2 separate regions of the Homo sapiens genome follow, and region 1 is linked to region 2. The links are contacts of gene promoters, found by promoter capture Hi-C in blood cells and fetal thymus (Javierre and others, 2016). All regions are on one chromosome and are shown on one strand. Each heading gives the region's core, a stretch centred on a gene start or on the middle of the fragment in contact. The rest is flanking DNA. Distances are from core to core; before and after follow the strand shown. Region 1 overlaps FXR2 (FMR1 autosomal homolog 2). Region 2 holds the start of TMEM102 (transmembrane protein 102).

The links. The method cuts DNA at HindIII sites, captures the fragments that hold promoters and counts their contacts. A CHiCAGO score of 5 or more calls a contact.
Region 1: a fragment that was not itself captured here is called in contact with the fragment with the promoter of TMEM102 in region 2 in 7 of 17 cell types (total B cells, total CD8 T cells, naive CD4 T cells and 4 more); the score reaches 7.7 in total B cells.

What each region holds. Positions count from the first base shown.
Region 1 is chr17:7,601,806-7,608,796 of GRCh38, reverse strand. It overlaps FXR2 (FMR1 autosomal homolog 2), which reads left to right. Exons shown (of 17, transcript NM_004860.4): 2 at 2,648-2,700; 3 at 3,059-3,152; 4 at 4,717-4,788; 5 at 4,892-5,040; 6 at 5,795-5,888. Among named protein-coding and RNA genes, the nearest start is that of FXR2, 9.6 kb to the left of the region's middle. The HindIII fragment of the contact is 4,908 bases long and covers 1-4,495 here.
Region 2 is chr17:7,433,223-7,439,617 of GRCh38, reverse strand. TMEM102 (transmembrane protein 102) reads right to left here and starts at 4,183. Exons shown (of 3, transcript NM_178518.3): 1 at 3,922-4,183; 2 at 3,533-3,765; 3 at 1,939-3,424. The coding sequence starts at 3,746. The coding sequence ends at 2,112. It overlaps FGF11 (fibroblast growth factor 11), which reads right to left and starts at 106. Exons shown (of 5, transcript NM_004112.4): 1 at 1-106. RefSeq lists silencers at 1-4, 1,283-1,382, 2,354-2,633 and enhancers at 1-296, 550-1,458, 1,473-1,572, 2,369-3,278, 4,330-4,499. The HindIII fragment of the contact is 10,292 bases long and covers 1-5,763 here.

The sequences.
Region 1 (6,991 bases), core at 792-3,291, 170 kb before region 2:
GCAATCAAAGGAATGAACATTTCTGTCACTCCCAAAAGTCCTCCATCAACTACCAATCTTCTGTCATTATACATTAAATTGCCCTTCCTGATTTTCGATAGAAATGAAAAGGCAGTTCAATTCAGCTAAGAAAGGATAGTCTTGTCTTTTCTTTTCTTCTTTTCTTCTTTTTTTTTTTTTGAGGCAGAGTTTGCCCTGTTGTCCAGGCTGCAGTGCGATGGCATGATCTTGACTGACTGCAGTCTCTAACTCCTGGCTTCAAGTGATTTTCATGCCTCAGCCACCCTGAATAACTGAGGTTACAGCCATGTGCCACCACGCCTGGCTAATTTATATATTATTATTATTATTATTTTTTTTTTTTTTTAGTAGCAATGGGATTTTGCCATATTGGCCAGACTAGTCTCGAACTCATGGCCTCAGCTGATCTGCCAGCCTCGGCCTCCCAGTGTTGGGATTACAGGCGTGTGCTACCGCCCCTGGCCAGAAAGGATAGTCTTCAACAGACAGTGCTGGAACAAGATATCTTTAGGTAAAAAATGGGCTGGGCACAGTGGTCACACCTGTAATTCCAACATTCTTGGAGGCTAAGGCGGGTGCATTGCTTGAGTCCAGGAGTTCAAGACCAGCCTGGGCAACATAGCGAAACCCTGTCTCTATTAAAAAAAAATTTTAATTTAAAAATATATTAAAAATAAAAAAAAGTGGCCTGGTGCGATGGTTCATACCTGTAATCCCAGCACTTTGGGAGGCTGAGGCGGGTGGATCACCAGAGGTCGGGAGTTTGAGACCAGTCTGACGAACATGGAGAAACCCTGTCTCTCTTAAAAATACAGAATTAGCCAGGGTCGTGGCCCATGCCTGTAATCCCAGCTACTTGGGAGGCTGAGGCAGAATTGCTTGAACCTGGGAGGCGGAGGTTGCGGTGAGCCAAGGTTGCACCATTGCACTCCAGCGTGGGCAACAAGAGCGAAACTCTGTCTCAAAAAAATAAATAAGAATTTAAAAATTTAAAAAACATTGATCAATACCTCACCTTATATATAAAATTTAATTCAAAATGGATCATAGGCTGGGCACAGTGGCTCACATCTTTAATTCCAGCTTTGGGAGGCTGAGGCAGATGGATCACCTGAGGTCAGGAGTTCGAGACCAACCTGGCCAAGATGGTGAAACCCCGTCTCTACTAAAAATATAAAAAATTAGCCTGGTGTGGTGGCGGTTGCCTGTAATCTCAGCTACTCGTGAGGCTGAGGCAGGAGAATTGCTTGAACCCGGGGGGTGGAGGTTGCAGTGGGCCAAGATTGCGCCATTACACTCCAGCCTGGGTGACAGAGTGAGACTCTGTCTAAAAATAAAGGATTATAGATGTAAATGTAAAACAAAAAACTAAAAGTTTAAGAAGAAGACATAAGAGAAAACCTTTGTGGCCTTGGATTAGGCAAAGATTTCTTTTTCTTTTTCTTTTTTTTTTTTTTGAGATGGAGTTTTGCTCTTGTTGCCCAGGCTGGAGTGCAATGGCATGATCTTGGCTCACTGCAACCTCTGACTCTCAGGTTCAAGTGATTCTCTTTCCTCAGCCTCCCAAATAGCTGGGATTACAGACATGCACCACCACACCTGGCTAATTTTTGTATTTTTAGTAGAGACGGGGTTTCACCATGTTGGCAGGCTGGTCTCGAACTCCTGACCTCAGGTGATCTGCCTGCCTCGTCCTCCCAAAGTGCTGGGATTATAGGCGTGAGCCACTGTGCCTGGCCTGGGCAAAGATTTCTTAGATATGAAACCAAAAGCACAGTTGATAAAATAATAAATTCATAAGCTAGACCTTTTTCAAAATTAGAAATCCCTAATTGTATGTGAAAAATAGGGAGAAGGTAGAAAAATTGGGAGCATAGGGGTGAATGCATGGCTTTGGCCTCCTTAGTGAGGACACAGACCACAGGAGGTGGATCAGCTGTTCAGTCATCCCTCTTGCTCTTGTCAAAATATCAAGATTGGAGTCTTCCATAAATTTTATTATCCTTTATAAATTATCAGTGTCATTCTAGATTCAATTCTAGTATTAAAAAACCGATGTTTTTAAATTAAGTCTTAATTTTTCCTTCTGTAAATTGTGTTCATCACAATTTTGAACTTGTCTAGTGTTCCGATTATTGTCTTAGGACCCATGCATCAGGGCAGCGAGTCTGCTCAGATCTCTTGCTGTATTGCGGAGGTAGGCCCTTCTCTCTCGACAGATCCTCATGTCCTCTAGGTGTTCCAGGACAGCCTCACACTGTCTCATGGGATATTCTTAGCCTTGCTGAATGTTGTTGGTATTTTAATTGAACTCTGGCAGGCTGCTTAGCACAACAGGAGGCAGACAGATAGGGAGGCCCCTGTGGGAGCCTGAGTAGATCATTGGTTTCCAGGCTGTTCTGATGCAGGTGGTACATACACCTCTCCATGACAATATCATTTCCTTTCTCTGTTTGACTGCCCATATTCTTTCCCCAGTGCAGCCTTTCAGGCTGTCTCATTACACCACTTGTGTCCCTATCTAAAACTCAAGTTTAAGGTTTTGTGGTGTCTTATTCCCTTGATGGCTAAGGTGGAAGTAAAAGGTCATTTTATTTTTTTTGCTTTTTTCTAAAATCCATTCTAGGGCTTTGTGAAGGATGTCCATGAAGACTCTGTCACCATCTTCTTTGAAAACAAGTAAGACCTTGGGAATAGAGAATCCAGCATACTAGGTCCTAGAAGGAGAGTGGAGAAGAGGGGGCAGCTGAGTCCTATGAGGCATGTAATAGGTTGGGAGAGCTGAGGGTTTGGGTGGGAACTCATATGGATCCCAGGAGAGGAAAGGGCTGAGAATTTGGTGAGGGTGGGGGCATTTGACCCAGTATTTAGAGTCTAGAAAGAGATGGAAGACACTACTATGGAGCAGGGCCTGGGGTTTAGCCTCTAATTATCCAGATAGGTGGAACTCGCCCAGCTGAGGCAATAACCCTTTTGTAAAGAAATGGGCAACCATATCAGTCAGAGTAGCTTTTTCATATTATTGTTTCTATTATAGCTGGCAGAGTGAGAGACAAATTCCTTTTGGGGATGTCCGGCTACCACCTCCAGCTGACTATAATAAGGAGATCACAGAAGGGGATGAAGTGGAGGTAAGGGCTGTGGAGTACACCTTTCTAAATGTCACTTTTCCCCAGGATTCTAGGCTTTTCTCTGGTTGGTTCATGTTCCTTCCTCCCCAACTAAGCCATATCCAGCCATGTAGCCTATGGAAATGTAAAATGCAACAGTTCCCCTTTTATCACTGTTGTGATCAGCCAAACTCTCAGGAACATCCCCAGTTTCAGGCGATTTGCCTTCCATTTATGGTAACAACATCTAAAATCCAGTGCCCTCTGATTTTTTTGTTGTTGTTGTTGTTGTTGTTTTGAGATGGAGTCTTGCTCTGTTGCCCAGGCTGGAGTGCAGTGGCGCGATCTCAGCTAACTGCAACCTCCGCCTCTTGGGTTCAAGCAATTCTTCCACCTCAGCCTCCCAAGTAGCTGGGATTACAAGCACCTGCCATCATGCTCGGGTAATTTTTGCATTTTTGTAAAGACATGGTTTCACCATGTTGGCCAGGCTAGTCTTGAATTTCTGACTTCAGGTGATCCACCCGCCTCAGCTTCCCAAAGTGCTGGGATTACAGGCATGAGCCACCATGCCCTGCCGTCCTCTGATTTTAATTAGTTCCTTCCTCTGGTTTCTTGTATCCTTGGTTTAAGATACATCCCAGGCTGGATGCAGTGGCTCACACCTGAAATCCCAGCACTTTGAGAGGTCGAGTGGGGCAGATCACCTGAGGTCAGGAGTTCAAGACCAGCCTGGCCAACATGATGAAACCCCATCTCTACTAAAAATACAAAAAATTAGCTGGGCGTGGTGGCGGGCGCCTATAATCCCAGCTACTTGGGAGGCTGAGGCAGGAGAATCGCTTGAACCCAGGAAGTGGAGGTTGCAGTGAGCTGAGATTGTGCCATTGCACTCCAGCCTGAGCACCAAGAGCGAAACTCTGTCTCAAAAAAAAAAAAAAAAAGATGCATCCCAAATACCTTTTTTTTCTTTTTGAGATGAAGTCTCACTCTGTTGCCCAAGCTGGAGTGCAGTGGCGCGGTCTCAGCTCACTGCAACCTCCACCTCCTGGTTCAAGTGATTCTCCTGCCTCAGCCTCCTGTGTAGCTTGGAGTACAGGCATGTGGCACCACACCCGGCTAATTTTTGTATTTTTAGTAGAGGTGGGGTTTTACCATGTTGGCCAGGCTGGTCTTGAACTCCTGACTTCAGGTGATCAGCCCACCTCAGCCAAAGTCCTGGGATTATGGGCATAAGCCACCGCGCTTGGCCTCTTTTTTTTTCGTGGAAGTGGGGTCTCACTGTGTTGCCCAGATCGTTCTTGAACTCCTGAGCTCAAGAGATCCTCCCACCTTGGCCTTCCAAAGTGCTGGGATTATAAGCTTGAGCCACTGTGCCCAGCAGCCCCAAATATCTTAATGGTTGTTCTATTGTTTATGTTGCCCAAGCTGGTCTTGAACTCCTGGGCATAAGCAGTCCTTTTGCCTCAGCCTCCCAAAGCGCTGAGATTACAGGTGTGAGCCCCACCATGCCCGGCCTCCTCATCCCTTTCTTGATGCTTTTGGGTGGTCTTCAATATCTCTTTGATTCTCTACTTTTCTTTAGGTTTATTCTCGAGCCAATGAACAGGAACCTTGTGGCTGGTGGCTGGCCCGGGTGCGGATGATGAAGGGAGATGTGAGTGACTGGGAATGCCTTTGGAGAACTACTGAAACAAATATGTTATTCATAGAAAGTTGCTCAGGTCATCCACAACTTCTCCTTTTTTACCATGTGCCAGTTCTATGTCATTGAATATGCTGCCTGTGATGCCACCTACAATGAAATTGTTACCCTGGAGCGACTTCGGCCAGTTAATCCCAATCCCCTTGCAACCAAAGGCAGCTTCTTCAAGGTTACCATGGCTGTGCCCGAGGATCTGAGAGAAGCGTGAGTGTTAAGGATGGTGGGAATGAGGGCCCTCTTTACAGCCCTAATCTCTGGCTTTATTTCTCCCAGGCATCACTCCCACTTTGCAGTTTTCTCTGTTGTTCCCCTGGCCCTCTACTAGAGCCCTTCTTGCTAAGAAGACACTTAGTTTCTTTATTTTCCCATCCTTGTTCTTTAACTGTGGTCCCTCTTCTTTTCTTTTCCTTTCTTTCTTTTTTTTTTTTTTTTGGAGACAGAGTTTTGCTCTTGTTGCCCAGGCTGGAGTGCAGTGGCACAATCTCGGCTCACCGCAACCTCCACCTCCTAGGTTCAGGCGATTCTCCTGCCTCAGCCTCCCGAGTAGCTGGGATTACAGGCATGCACCACCACACCCGGCTAATTTTGTATTTTTAGTAGAGACAGGGTTTCTCCATGTTGGTCAGGCTGGTCTCAAACTCCTGACCTCAAGTGATCCGCCTGCCTCAGCCTCCCAAAGTGCTGGGATTACAGGCGTGAGCCACCGCACCCGGCCCAGTCCCTTTTCTTTTCTTATTTACTCAGCCCTGCTTCTCTGAATTTTTTTTTTTTTTTTTAATAGAGACAGGGTCTCACTATGTTGCCCATGCTAGTCTTGAACTCCTGACTTCAAGTGATCATCCTGCCCTAGCCTCCCAAAGTGCTAGGATTACAGGTGCAAACCACCATGTCCAGCCTCCCCCGAACTCTTCACTGTACTCTCTGCATTCTGCCCGCTGAGTACTTTTTTCCTCTGCAGCTGCTCCAATGAAAACGTCCATAAAGAGTTCAAGAAAGCCCTGGGAGCCAACTGCATCTTTCTCAACATCACAAACAGTGAGCTCTTCATTCTGGTGAGTTTATTCTGCCTGAATTTCACATAAGCCTTTTGAACATTTTTTCTTTTTCCCTTTTTAACCCTTTTGCAGAAAGAGAAGGGCTTAAATGTGCTTATATTTATTTGTCAAGAGGACTTTATTGCTCCTGACTCCTACAGGCCCAGGTAGCCCTACCTTTTTTTTTTCTTTTTTTTGAGACGAAGTCTCACTCTTGTCACCCAGGCTGGAGAACAATGGCACGATCTCGGCTCACTGCAACCTCCACCTCCCGGGTTCAAGCAATTCTCCTGCCTCAGCCTCCTGAGTAGCTGGGATTACAGGTGTGCGTCACCACGCCGGCTAATTTTTTTTTTTTTGAGATGGAATCTCACTCTGTCGCCCAGGCTGGAGTGCAGTGGCGCGATCTCGGCTCACTGCAACCTCCACCTCCCAGATTGAAGCGATTCTCCTGCCTCAGCCTCCCGAGTAGCTGGGATTACAGGCGCCTGCCATTGCGCCTGGCTAATTTTTTTTTGTGTTTTTAGTAGAGACAGGGTTTCACCATGTTGGCCAGGCTGGTCCTGAACTGCTGATCTCCTGATCCACCCGCCTCGGCCTCCCAAAGTGCTGGGATTACAGACGTGAGCCACCGCGCCCGACATGCCCGGCTAATTTTTGTATTTTTAGTAGAAACAGGGTTTCACCATATTGGTCAGGCTGGTCTTGAACTCCTGACGTCGTGATCCGCCCGCCTTGGCCTCCCAAAGTGCTGGGATCACAGGCGTGAGCCACCACGCCCGGCCTCTGACCCTTTTTTTTTAAACCTGATAATCATGTTGCCATCTGGGTTAGAGACCCTCTCTTGATATTTGGACTTTCAGAAATAGAGTATGTAGCTCTCACCTTATGCTTGCTCCTTGCTTTCTCTCTAAACCATTTTCCTTCAGTACCCTGATAGTCAGCCTTTGTGGGACTGACAATGAGTCTCCTCCTTCCTAGCTTCATTTCTTTTTTTTTTGAAAACAGAGTATTGTTCTGTCACCAGGCTAGAGTGCAGTGGCGCAGTCTCGGCTCACTGCAACCTCCGACTCCCGGGTTCAAGCGATTCTCCTGCCTCAGCCTCTGGAGTAGCTGGGATT
Region 2 (6,395 bases), core at 2,934-5,433:
GCCCCGGGAGGAGACACCCCCAAACCGGCAGGCGCCCGGAGCGCGCTGGGCTCCCCCAGAGGAGCCCGCTCACTAGGGCATGCTCTTGACGCTCAGGCCCCGACTCGCTGCCCCACCCACAGGACCTGAGGATAAGCCCCAGACCCCCCCCCTCACGTACCCCCCTCCACAGCAGCCAGTTACCACCCGTGGGCCCAGTGCTGGCTCCACCAGATCCAGCAGCCTATGTACTCCTCAGTGGATCCCACCCTCGAGTTTTGCCTCCTATTGAAAACGTCCCCTTTCCCTCCTCTCCAGTGTCTGTCCTCACTTCACCTATCCCAAAGCCAAGACCCACTAAATTTCCAAGACGTGGTTTAAATATCTTCAGGCACCTTTCCACTGTATTTTGGGGCACACTCCTGCCAAATCCACTCTTGTAATCTACAGGGTGTGGGACTTTAGCTTTGGGAATATTCGCTCATCCCACCCCTACTGGGGCACTGCCAATGTCAGGAAGGAACCCAACCTTGGTGTTTTTTCCTTTGCTACACTCTAAATGGAGGGGATCCCCCACTTTTTTCACTGAAATCCCCCCAAAATATGTCTCAGAATATCCAGGTTGCCCAGGTTCAGTAAGACAGGGCTCCCAGACCCTCTGGCTGGATAATACCTTTTTCACCAAGTCCCCCCCATGTCTAGTAGCATAGAATTCTAGCGGCCAAGACCCTTTCTTCACCTTCACACCCTCCGCTCCTTTTGAAGTCACCTCCAAATCCACCCTTCCTAGTGGATACACCAGGTAGTTGACTGGAGGGCCTTCCGCCACCTCAAAATGAGGAGCATCCGTGTTTGTTTTTGTTTTTGTTTTTTTCTCCCCTGGCTGCCCCTTAAATTTTCTTGGGGACAGCTGGTGCTGTTTAGATCCCACGCCCTCCAATCTAACCAGCCCCCCAAGAGAGGAGTGCACCCACGTTGTCACCAGTCCCCAGATGTGAACAGGCCCCCTACAAGTCAGAGCGGATCACAGCTTCCTGCTACAGGGCTTCCTCGTCCTCCCCGGGATTGCCTATAGCACCCCCTCTTCCTTTTCCCGACGCCCCTCAACCTGTCCTGTCCTGTTGATCCGGCGACGGGTGGCGCTGGCTTCGGCTCCAGGCTCCTCCCTCCCTGTCCCCCGCAAACGGAGCTTCCCCCCACGCCCGGCTAGGCGTCCCGGACCCTCGGGAAGGAGTGAGGGTGTCTCTGCAGAGCTCCCCGGTCCGGCGAAGTCAGAGCACTGGGCCGGTGGCTGGACCAGGCAGAGCGGCGGCAGCGGCAGCGGCTGTGGGAAGCTGAGGCGGCGGCGGCGGCGGCGACAGCAGTTCCCCCTCCTCGGAGAGCCGGCCCGGGGGCGGGGCAGGGGGCGGAGACGCTGGGAAATAGGAGGGTGAAGCCGGGCAGGAGGAACCCCGGGGTTCCTTGGAGGTAGAGAGTGCGGACTGTGTCTTACAAGCAGGCAAAGCCGAGGCAAGGCCGCACGTCTCAGCCTTCAGAGGAGGAGGGACAGGAAGGCCTCCTGAACGCACCCCTGGGTAGGAAGGAGAGGTTGGGCCTAAGGGAGATGGAATGGCGGACGCTGGGAGAAGGGAGAGAGACCCTACTGGCCGGGATGTTAGTGAAGAAAGAACCGCACGAGTAAAGTGGGGGAAGAACTGGAGAGATGGAGGATGGGGGGTGGTGAGATCCAGCCTTGGGCGAAATCCGGCCTCCTTCATATCTCTGCCGTTGTGTGAGCCAAATTGATCAGACCCTGGTCTCCATAACTCCTTTTCGCGTTTGGTCAGCAAATATGTTTCTCCCATTTCTATTGGCCCTTAAGAGAAATGACCAAAAGAACTGGGGACAGACGGTTTCTGGAAGCTGCCCCTGGGCGGAGTGCTGGCCACAGATGTGGAGAATAGCGAGGCTGGAATGGGGCAACTTGTGCGGGGGCAGGCGGGTGGGCGTAGAGGAGGAACCAACAGGGAGGTCTTCCAGAAGGGGGGCTTCAGGCCCAGGGCACACAGTCAGTCCCCCTGGCGAGGGGCGAGCAGGGCCCCCCACGTCCCGCTCGCCCACAGAGGCACTTTCCACTGGTAGGAACAGCGTCTTTAATGGGCCCCGCCCCCCACGCCCGCCAAACCGCCCCCCTTGCGGGCCACTTTGGCCTCCTCCACCGCGGCACGGAGGGCCCGGGCCGGGTCCCCGCGGAGCCGGGCCAATTCTCCGAGCAGCGCAGCGGAGTCGTCCCCCGTACGGAGCTGTCGGCCGTTCAGAAAATAGTGAGGCAACGTCCCGGCCTCGAGCACTCGGCCGAGCTCGTCTAGCAGCCCGAGGCAGCAGGCGCCCGCATTTTCTGGCCGCGCCAGGTAGAGCGCAGGCAGCCGCTCGCACGCCCAGTACAGCAGCGTCCGCAGGAGGTAGGGCGCCGCCGCCCGGGTCCCGGCCACCAGCGGGCGCAGTAGCGCCTGGGCCGCCGCGTGCGCCTGCAGCAGCGGCGCTGGTATGCGCGCTTTGAGCGCCAGCTCCTGGCGGGCAAAACAGAGCTGCCAGGCGGAGGCGCACGGCCGCTCGGTGCCGCCACCGGGCACCAGGTAGAAGGAAGCCGACTCAGAGGCCAGCGGACCGGCCCACGAGTGGCTCCGAGCCCCCTCGGGCCAGCCCGCCACGGACACCACTGGGATCAGGTCGAAGAGCAGGAGGCGGCGAGGGGGCTCAGGGGTAGCCAGGAGGACGGTGGTGAAACCCGCGTGGCGAGCTGCGTGCACCAGACGCGGAGCACCCGGGACAGGGATCAGAGACTCGGCGACCGCCGCCAGCGTAGCAAAGAACCAGGCAGCCACCTGGGCGGAACATAATGTGGGCCACGCTTCCCGAGCCTCCGACGGCTTTGGGACTGGGCTTTCGACGGCTGCCTTGGTGACGTCACTACTCATTGTTTTCAAAGGTGCGGTAGAGCCAAGGTCGACGACGTCATGCTGAGGCGACTCGGACGCTGAAACGTCACTAGGCGATTTTTCCAAAGACACCGGCGCCTCGTGCTCAGTGACGTAGCTGTGCGGCTGGTCTACAGAGCTTTGCCAGTCCTTGGAACTTTCTTCGCTCTCCGTTCGGTGGATCGAATCACGTGCTCCTGGGACTGGGGGTCCTAAGCAATCCTGCCACATCTCCCGGATGGGGGTTCCGCACACCATCTCTGGGAGGCAGACCTGTGCGTAACAGGATTCCAGGTCCAGTTGCAGTTCAGTGCCGTCCAGTGAAAACATGGGCACTAGGAGTGTGAAGCCGGCATCGTAGTGAGGTCCCCGGGCGTAGGGACCCAGGGGTGCATGCCCCAGATCCAGGGAGCCCTCGCGAATCCCACCACGAAGCAGCAAGAGCTCTGCCTGGGGAGGAAAGCGAGGGTCCCGGCGGTGAACTAGACCTAAAAAAAGGGAACGGATCGTGAGGGCGTCGCCCAAAGCCGGGGCGGGGGCGGGGGCGTGGTGAGGCTGAGAGCTGTGAGTTCCCAAAGGCAAGTAGGGTTACTTACCAAGCAAAGAGAAGACAAAGTCCTTGGCCCGGAGGAGATCGGCTCCCGGCTTGGGCCCGTCACTCCAGCTCTCCTGCACACCCAGCTCCTGGATCAGCTGGGTCAATTCCTGCAGCTGCGCCCCGGAGCAGAAGTCGATGTCCGTGAGCGGCCGAGCTGGGGCCGGGGGCGGCGGGCCCCACCAGGGGGCACTCCCCCAGACTGCGGAAGCCATGCGGTTCTATCGCTTTGGGCTGCGGAAAACACGGAAGGGAGGTGGCTTTGCTGCCACAAAGTCGTCCCCGTTCTTCCCTCTTCCTGAGGCCGAGCGAGTGCCCCAGACACAACCTACAAATGGGTCTGTAGATGATGGGTTCTAAATTTAGTCCTCAAAATGAACAAATAAATACCTCTTCTATCCTGGCCCTTTTCTCATAGGCAGGTCCCCGCCCCCATGAACTGGTTCACCGGACTCAGCAGGTAAAAAGTAACTGTTGGCTCCTCCTACGGAATGCAGTAGCCAGCCTCCGCTGCCGCCCCTTGTCTACCTCCCTTTACCTCTTTTTTGGAAGAGGCTTATTAGTCTGCGGCTTCCCCCTTATGGGAAGCAGTAAGGGTGGGGAGCAGAAATAGATTCAACAGGTTACTTCTTCCTGATGCCCACGTGGCCACGCCCCTACATTTTCAGCCACGCCCCTTTCTGGAGGCTGTCGAGGTGGTTTCCGCCGGGTCGGGTCGCCAGTCAGAGCTCAATCACTCTTTTGGCCCTGCTGAAATCCCGCGTTATCCTGGGAGTTGTAGTTTCCCGCTCTACTAGGGCGTGGTAGCCACGCCCCCACATCCTTTCCTGTTCCGCTGAAGTAGTGCCTGATGGAAGTTGTAGTTCCTCTGGAGACAGATTATTCTGTGTCTTTTCACACCCATATCAACCCCACTCAAACATTCCTTGGGGTTTGAGAGGGGTAATAGGATGGCTCTGAGTCGCAAAAAATAATGAGGGATGGGCCGGGCGCGGTGGCTCCCGCCTGTAACCCCAGCACTTTGGGAGACTGAGGCGGGTGAATCACCTGAGGTCAGGAGTTCAAGGCCAGCCTGGCCAACATTGCGAAACCCTGTCTCTACTAAAAATACAAAAATTAGCCGGGCGTGGTGGCAGACGCCTGTAATCCCAGCTACTTAGGAGGCTGAGGCAGGAGAATCACTTGAACCTAGGAGGGAAAGGGTGCAGTGAGCTGAGATTGTGCCATTGCACTCCAGCCTGGGTGATAAGAGCGAAACTCCACCCTAGGGCCTGGGGAGAGATAGGGACCCCTGCCTGGGTGGGGTGGGGGGGGTGCATCTTGGAATCCCAAAAGTGGTAGTGTTAGGCAGGAGCACACAGATGGTGACCCAGAAATGGACGTTTGACTCATAGGAGAGACATACATGTTAGTGATGCCCACCTCAGCTCACTGCTACCTGAGTCGTGGCAGGGAAAACACTTTGGGATCTCAAATTTTTGTTTTGTTTTGTTTTGTTTTTGAGACTGAGTCTCGCACTGTTGCCCAGACTGGAGTGCTGTGGCGCAATCTCCGCTCACTGCAACCTCCACCTCCCGGGTTCAAGCAGTTCTCCTGCCTCAGCCTCCCGAGAAGCTGGGATTACGGCGCCTGCCACCATACCTGGCTAATTTTTTGTATTTTTAGTAGAGACAGGGTTTCACCATGTTGGCCAGGCTGGTCTTGAACTCCTGACCTCAGGTGATCCTCCCACCTCGGCCTCCCAAAGTGTTGGGATTATAGGCACGCGCCACTGCACCCGGCCTGGGCCACGACTTCTTACATTCCTTCTGCCCTTGGTCTGTCTCCAGGACGGGATAGGCCTAAGTCCATGGATAAGATAATTAAGGAGGACATCTAGGAAAATTAGAGGCCTGTAAAAGAAGAGACTCCCCAACTGTAGAGATCAATTTGGCAAGCCCAGGACTCAGGGGTTCCTCGTCACTGACAGAGAGTTTTCTCCTTCAGCAACCAGAGCTGGGGTCCCTGGGAGAAGCGAGAGCACCAAAGCAGCCCAGAACTGCGCAAGTAGGTTCCCGTACACACACATCTGGCTGTGACCCAAGAGGCCAGATCAGGAGAACTGGAGACTGGGCTGTTTCTCACAGTCTGGAGTAACCAGGCATCAGACATCCCTGCATCTCACCTCCTTCCCAGAGGGTGGCTTCCGAGGCACTCTAAAAAGAACTAAGTTCTCTGGACTCTGTGGAAGCTTTGAAGATGTTAAGAATGGGTGACAAGGAATAGTTCCTCTAAACTCTAAAGCATGGCTCTCCAATATAATTTTCTGTGACGATAGCAATGTCCTGAGTTGGTCCTGTCTGATACAGTAGCCACCAGCAGCCACCTGTGGCTGTTGAGCACTTGAAATGTAGATAATGTGGCCAGGCGCCCTGGCTCACGCCTGTAATCCCAACACTTTGGGAGGCCGAGGCGGGTGGATCACTTGAGGTCAGGAGTTCGAGACTAGCCTGGCCAACATGGTGAAACCCCATCTCTACTAAAAAGACAAAAATTAGCTGGGCGTGGTGGTGCACGCATGTAATCCCAGCTACTCAGGAGGCTGAGGCAGGAGAATCGCTTGCTTGAACCTGGGAGGCAGAGGTTGCAGTGAGCCGAGATCGCGCCATTGCACTCCAGCCTGGGTGACAGAGCGAGACTCTGTCTCAAAAAAAAGAAAAAAAGAAAAAGAAAAAAAGAAAATGTAAATTAAAATTAAACAAAATTTAAAAATGTGTTCCGCAGTAACATCTACTTTTTTTTTTTTTTTTTTTTTTGAGACAGAGTCTTGCTGTGTCACCGAGGCTGGAGTGCAATGGTGCGATCTCGGCTCACCACAACTTCCG